2 separate regions of the Homo sapiens genome follow, and region 1 is linked to region 2. Evidence: promoter capture Hi-C in 16 types of primary human blood cells and fetal thymus (Javierre and others, 2016). All regions are on one chromosome and are shown on one strand. The core of a region is centred on a gene start or on the middle of the fragment in contact, and the rest is flanking DNA. Distances in the headings are between cores, read along the strand shown. Region 1 holds the start of SLC17A1 (solute carrier family 17 member 1). Region 2 holds the start of H2AC1 (H2A clustered histone 1).

Region 1 (3,472 bases), core at 607-3,106, 110 kb after region 2:
CCTGCCTTACTTCCACTTACAGATCTATCTCTCTTTCTCTTGGAGATGGAACCAAAATAGCCCAGTTTTTTCTGATATTTTCCACTAAATGATAAACTGACAAGTGCGCAAAAATGAAAATAAAGTGTAAGCCACCAGAGTATGTAGAATCTTTTTATTTAGGGCTTTTCTGGTGGAAAACCATAGTAGGACTGGTTTCTTCTACCTTCTTTTCTGAACATTTTTAAGACCCCATATGTATATCACAAAAATATTCTTCCACATGGAATCTGTGATGTAATATTTAAGAAAAAGAACACCTGTTTAATGGAACAGAATAAAGTGCTACCTTTTTTGGGAGGCAACCGGTTATCCATTTGCATACACGGCTGAAGTTGCTTCTCTTCTTGCTGAAGGGTTTTGCCTCCACCCACTGTGAGTGCAAAACACGTTGATGTCAGCATAATGTAGAGAGGCAACTGACCAAACACTACCCAGTACTCCTCTCTGATTTAAAACCGCTTCCAAGGATAACTTGCTCCATCACAGCAGTGCCCATTCACCTCCATTATGTGCTTCCCTTGATATTTATTTTACTTTTGTGATTGTTTTGGTTGATTAAAAATATATGGAAGACCTGAAAACTACAGAGAACAAACAAATAACCCTGCCAATCCAGAATTCTAAATCCGTGATAATATTCCTCCAAAGTGAGAAATGGAAAGAATTCATTGCCAGTAGACCTGCCCTGTAAGGAACACTAAAAGAAGCCTTTCAGGCAGAAGGAGATTGCTATAGGTCAGAAACTCGGCAGTATGAAAAGAAAGGAAGAATGTCAGAAAAGGAGTAAGCAAAGGTAAAACAAATTCCTTTTTTCCCCCTGTATCTTAATAGAGCTGGAAGATACTATCTGCTTATTGATAAGATCAACTCAAGCAGAGGCTAATCATTCGTTACACGTCCACATGCCCCTGTCCGTATCTTCAGTTTCCGTGGATAGAGCAGCCACTGATGCAAAGCTTTATGGCAGGAAGCTCAGTGGAGAATCAGAATGGAGCAGTCTCCTATCAGGCAACCCCTTACCATCAGAATTCAGCACCAATATGTGCTGGTCAGGTTAGACCTCAGGATTTTACCATATCAGATTATATGATACCTAGTGCCCCAAAGATACCAAAGTCCTGAGATTGGATTTGCAAAATATTTTTGAATAAGCAATTTGTCAACCATCATTATCACACATTGGAACCTCTTCTGGGGCTGCTGTTTATTTCAATACATATATACATACACACCAAATGCACACACAAACCACCCATACGTATGCACCACATACATACATACAACATAAACACATGGTACAAACTCCCCTTATGTTCTCCACACATACACTCCAGACACATAGCAAACCAAACATATAAATACGTTACAATACTGCATCCTCAAAACGGAAGTACAAACTACAAACACCACACACATAACCACACACACACATAAATGATGGGCACAGATGCACCAGGCGTACACAGTGTGCCACACACATTACAGACACAGCACACCACAGCTATACAAGCATCACACACTGTACAACACATACTTCTCTTTCCTTGTGTCCCTGTGAACCTCACACTGATTGCTAAAAATATGTTCTTTTTTCTCTTGTGAAAAGCCTCAGAAGATAGGGCATATTCCACCCCTCCCCACATTTTCCCCTATTGCTAAGTACTTTCAATAATATCTTTGCCAGGGAATGCCCCCTTACGGCCCTCTGGGGAATCAACTGATTGCTCATTTCATTTAATGAGCCCCGTAGACTAACCTGATTCGGGACAAAAAAGTGATTTCTTCTTCCGCTGTGAAGACTTTTCTCTCAACTTTACACAATATTGACTTTCTAGGATTACCAAGTTTAGCCCCATAAATCATTCACCAAATCTTTTGACATCACTGTGTCGAAGTTAAAAGCTTAATTTTTAACTTTACTGTTACCTTTTCCTTAAAGCTTCAGGGAAGGTGTGTGGGTCAAAATCATCCAGTGGACCAGAAACTGGGAATCTGCCAGTAATTTCATGGCATAATAAGCAGACACCCTTAGTCTCTCTCCCTGCCCAGGAGGTAGAGCTTGCCTGCCATAAGTGCTCTCAAGATTTCTCTATTAAGGATGGCTCTGAGTATACAATGCTGTTCTCACAGGAATGTTGTGGCTTTCTAAATGCCCCATAAATGCCATATTAAATTTTTACTCTTAATTCCCTTCCTTCCTTTCTTCCTCCTTTTCTTCCTTTTTTCTTTCTTTCTTCCTTCTCTTTCCCTTCTTCCTTCTCCCTCCTTCCTTGCTTTCCCTCCTTCCCTCACCCTGTCTCCTCCACACTCCTCTCTAAACAGTACATCTGTTTGACATTCAGCATACTCAGAAAGAGGTACATTTTATTGAGGCATGTCCTCTGGAAGGTGTGGCTTCTCTCATGGCTCTTCCTGCAATTACTGTAGGTTCTGGTTCATCCACTTGGTTATAGCAATATCCAGAAACATTAAAAAAAAAACATAGAGAGACAGGATCTCACACTGTCACCCAGGCTGGAGTGCTATGGTGCAATTATAGCTCAGTGCAGACTTGAACTCCTGAGCTCAAGGGATCCTTCCACTTCAGCCCCAAGTAGCTGGGATTACAGGTATGCAACACTGTACCCAGCTAATTGGTAGAGACAGGGTCTTGCTGTGTTGCCCAGGTTGATATCAAACTTCCTGCCACAAGCAATCCTTGTGCCTTGGCCTCCCAAGTGTTGGAATGACAGGCGTGAGCCGTCGTGCCTGGCCCCTAATACTTTTAACTTAGAACTCTTTGAAGGTAATCTACTAATTACTTAAAAATATCCAAGCACTAAAATCAGTGATTTTGCATTATAGGTAATTTATTTCATGCTTAACAAGTTTTTTTTTAATTTTTATCATGCTTTTAAAGTGCTCATTAAATGTTTGGCACATAGCAGATGCTCTGTAAATTCAACCAGTTATTTTTTTCCTCTAAAGAAATGTTGTAAATCTTTAACCCCTTTGCCCAGGAGACTTTGATGTTGTTATTCAGTTAGATTTTTTCTTTTTCAAAAGTCCAGATTCTGCTGGTCCTCTTCTGTGTGTTGCAGAATGTTTGTACTGTCCTGTTTCATGCTGGGCAATTTCTGGCATTTTCTGAAAGAGGAGCCCTTTTAGTGATTGAAACCCCTAGGTCAGCAGTTGTTCAAAGTCCATGTGTTAAATAATAACACTCCCATCTGCCATCAGTATCCCAGTTCTGGATACTGATTACCTGAAGGAGAACCATCTTTCTGTTTGCTGGCCCCAAAGCTTTCTGCTGCTCTGTGAGATTCTTTGAAATTGTTTCTTTTGGATTCTGTGTTTTATGTATTAAATTTTTAAATTTATCATTTTATTATGGAAATGTTTAAGCATACAAAAAAGTAGATCAGTTTAAGATAACTGTGTACATATTCAC
Region 2 (3,821 bases), core at 1,322-3,821:
AATATCAAGAATGTTCTATCTGTAAAACATCGTCAATCAGAAAACATAATAAAAGAAACCCTTCTAATATTTCCCCAAAATACAGTAATAAAAAAGAATACCTGGAGATAAACTCTATGAAACGTGTGAAAGTTCTATAAGAAGAAATCAAGGCTGGGTGCGGTGGCTAACACTTGTAATCCCAGCACTTTGGGAGGCTGAGGCTGGCGGATCACCTGAGGTCAGGAGTTGGAGACCAGCCTGGCCAACATGGCGAAACCCTGTCTCTACTAACAATACAAAAGTTAGCTGGGCGTGGGGCAGGCGCCCGTAATCCCAGCTACTCAGGAGGCTGAGGTAGGAGAATCACTTGAACCTGGGAGCTGGAGGTTGTAATGAGCCGAGATCACGCCACTGCACTCCAGCCTGGGTGACAGAGCGAGACTCTGGCTCCAAAAAAAGAAGAATCAGAAACTTCTGTAGGTAAATTGTTTTGAAAAATCAAGGGGGCATGTCTCCTGTAACATGTATTCACAATTTTTTAATATATTTTATTCTATCTAAACATTTAGTTTAATGCAATTTTAATAGGATTGCATTAGAGATAGAAATAAAAGTATTATGTAGTGCATTTGGAATAAAAGAATACACAGGTTCTCTTCTATAAAGTCAAGTCCCTCCTCCTCTGCCTTGGCAAGTCTGAGAAGTTAAGTGCCACTTTCTTGACAAAGTATCTACATTAATTACTTGGAATTCATCTGTTTAGGTTTGTCTTATATCCTGATTTTAAGTTTTACATTTGCCATGTTCTAAATATTACCCAGTTTTATTCAACATATAGTTGCCATTTCTGTTTTCAAATATCTTCAATTTTTGCCGTCCCTAACTGCATCCCTTATTTATTATGTATGCAGGTTAATTCATACTTTTGTAACTTGATTGTCCTTACTCGGCATGTTTTATTTTATAGAACTTTACCTGCTTCTATACATGCCTTATTATGTGTAGACATCAAGTGTTTAGCAGTTTTTTTTTTGGTAACCAAATGATTTTTTTTTTTTTTGAGGTAAGGTCAACTGTTGAATATCGTACAATAATTTTTAATTTAGTTATTTGGCAGCGTTACTGAATGGGTTTTGCTTTTCACTTTCTCTTGGTGTTTACAGCACAAACTGCAAACACAGATCAACAAACTATTTTGCCTCTTTTCAACAGTCAAAACTTTTGAAGCATATACTCTTCCAAATTTCTAAACTTCAAATTATGTTCGGCCTTCTAGTCCCATTCCTGCCTGAGTCTAACACTAGTATCTCACCATCACATATGGCGTAAGGCTTCTTTTTGACATATTTTACTTACATTTTAAGAAATAATTCTATTATTCTTTACAAAGTACGTGAAACCACAGGTATCAAATATATATGCTTACCCAAATTTTAAGATTAACTTACTTACATGCCACATTTAATTATGAGTATTTCGTGAAACTACCATATTTGAAAGGAAATTCTCTAAAATGTACTTTAACCAGCCAGACTGATGTTACCTGGATTTAAACAGGAAGATTACACCTCTCCTGCTTGTAATGCAATTTTCACTTCCATGTGTAACCCTTAACATAACTAACATACATAAATCTAGTTTGAGATAGTCTCGCTCATGTCACCCAGACTGGAGTGCAGTGGAGCAATCAATCTTCGTTCACTGTAACTTTCGCCTCCCGGACTCATGAACAACCCTCCCACCGCAGCCTCCCGAACAGCTGGGACTACAGGCCTGCATCACCAGACCCAGCTAGTTTCTGTGGGGACAGGGTCTCAATTATGTTAACGGTCAAGCCCCAGGCTTGAACGACCCTCCCGCTCCAACCTCCACTGAAGTGCAAGTACTGACTGCTCACAAGCGTTAAGCCACCTCGCCCAGTGACATATATAACCAAAATTACCTCAAACTAATGGCCGATGGAACGCTCCTTGAAAATTCAGTCCCCGTACATTCCCGAAATGCGCTTAAACGGGCATTTGTGACAGGCAAGTAAGATGGCTGGTTAACAGCAGTAACGTTTTGTAACGTACAGCCTTTTTCTGAGACGGTAGGTGGCTCTGAAAAGAGCCTTTTGTTTTTTCTGACACAGAAGTCTTTTTACCAATGACAACCTTAAGTTACTTGCTTTGGGCTTTATGGTGGTGACTCTCAGTCTTCTTGGGCAGCAGCACTGCCTGAATGTTAGGCAGGACTCCGCCCTGGGCAATGGTCACGCCGCCCAAAAGCTTATTGAGTTCCTCATCATTGCGGATCGCTAGCTGCAGGTGGCGGGGAATAATGCGAGTTTTTTTGTTATCGCGAGACGCATTGCCTGCCAGCTCAAGGATTTCTGCTGTGAGATACTCTAACACTGCCGCCAAATACACTGGTGCGCCTGCCCCTATCCGCTCTGCATAGTTTCCCTTACGAAGCAGACGATGGATCCGGCCTACGGGAAACTGCAAACCCGCTCTAGAAGAGCGAGACTTAGACTTGGCGCGTGCTTTTCCTCCCTGCTTCCCTCGTCCAGACATCTCCTCGCATCAAATTGCAGCAACACGAGAACCACATTTCTAGGGCTGCTACTGGGCCTATTTATAGTCTGACTGAGGTTGGCATTTGCTATCTGATTGGCTGATGGCCGTCTACCCAATCAGAAAGTCGTACTAGAATCGCCTCATTTGCATTCACGCCACTTCCCATTGTCCAATCAGATTTTGGATACCGAACGCGGCGTTTGAGGGCCGTGCCTATAAATACCGCATCTTTCATCCTCCAGTTCTGTTTGTTTACTTGGCGAGACTTGGAGCTGAGGTCATTTGGAGCTGTTTAATACTGAAGAGCTGTTGAGCACTGGAAAGTGCTGTGTAACCCTGGAAAAGAACCGTGTAACGCTGCAGAAGTGTGTGGTAGCTATGCCGGAGGTGTCATCTAAAGGTGCTACCATTTCCAAGAAGGGCTTTAAGAAAGCTGTCGTTAAGACCCAGAAAAAGGAAGGCAAAAAGCGCAAGAGGACCCGTAAGGAGAGTTATTCTATTTACATCTACAAAGTGCTAAAGCAGGTCCATCCGGACACTGGCATCTCTTCGAAAGCTATGAGCATTATGAATTCCTTCGTCACTGATATCTTTGAGCGTATAGCGAGCGAGGCATCACGTTTGGCTCACTACAGCAAGCGCTCCACCATTTCTTCCAGAGAGATTCAGACAGCAGTGCGCTTGCTACTGCCGGGAGAGCTGGCTAAACATGCTGTGTCTGAGGGCACCAAGGCTGTCACTAAGTACACCAGCTCCAAGTAAGCCTGCTAAGTAAACGTCATTTCTAACCCAAAGGCTCTTTTCAGAGCCACTTAAACATACTGAAACAGCTGTGGGCTTCGTTTTTGTGTAGTTTCTAACCGTAAGGGTTTTTTTTTTTTTTGAGGCGGAGTCTCACTCTCCCAGGCTGGAGTGCAGTGGCGGAATCTCGGCTCACTGCAAGCTCTGCCTCCTGAGTTCACGCCATTCTCCTGCCTCAGCCTCCTGAGCAGCTGGGACTACAGGCTCCCACCACTACACCCGGCTAATTTTTGTATTTTTAGTAGAGACGGGGTTTCACCATGTTGGCCAGGATGGTCTCAAACTCGATCTGGTGATCACCCACCTCGGTCTCCCAAAGTGCTGGGACTACAGGCGTGAGCCACTGCGAATATATCCAAATCAGCTGTGGGCCGAGGGTAGACGAACTAGTTGCAGCAAGACAATCCTTGCTAGGCACCGTGACTCGCCTGTAATCCCAGCACTTGCAGAGGTCGAGGCTGGCGGTTCATGAGGTTAAGA

What was found. Contacts are between HindIII fragments. The CHiCAGO score rates a contact against its expected background, and 5 or more counts as called.
Region 1: a contact is called between the fragment with the promoter of SLC17A1 here and the fragment with the promoter of H2AC1 in region 2, in 3 of 17 cell types (naive CD4 T cells, total CD8 T cells and M0 macrophages). The highest score is 5.3, in naive CD4 T cells.

Annotation. Positions count from the first base shown.
Region 1 is chr6:25,830,196-25,833,667 of GRCh38, forward strand. It overlaps SLC17A1 (solute carrier family 17 member 1), which reads right to left and starts at 1,857. Exons shown (of 13, transcript NM_005074.5): 1 at 1,799-1,857; 2 at 329-412. The coding sequence starts at 362. The HindIII fragment of the contact is 946 bases long and covers 997-1,942 here.
Region 2 is chr6:25,723,991-25,727,811 of GRCh38, forward strand. It overlaps H2AC1 (H2A clustered histone 1), which reads right to left and starts at 2,572. Exons shown (of 1, transcript NM_170745.3): 1 at 2,073-2,572. The coding sequence starts at 2,537. The coding sequence ends at 2,142. It overlaps H2BC1 (H2B clustered histone 1), which reads left to right and starts at 2,787. Exons shown (of 1, transcript NM_170610.3): 1 at 2,787-3,355. The coding sequence starts at 2,919. The coding sequence ends at 3,302. It also overlaps a transcript of SLC17A1 not described here. The HindIII fragment of the contact is 12,318 bases long and covers 2,248-3,821 here.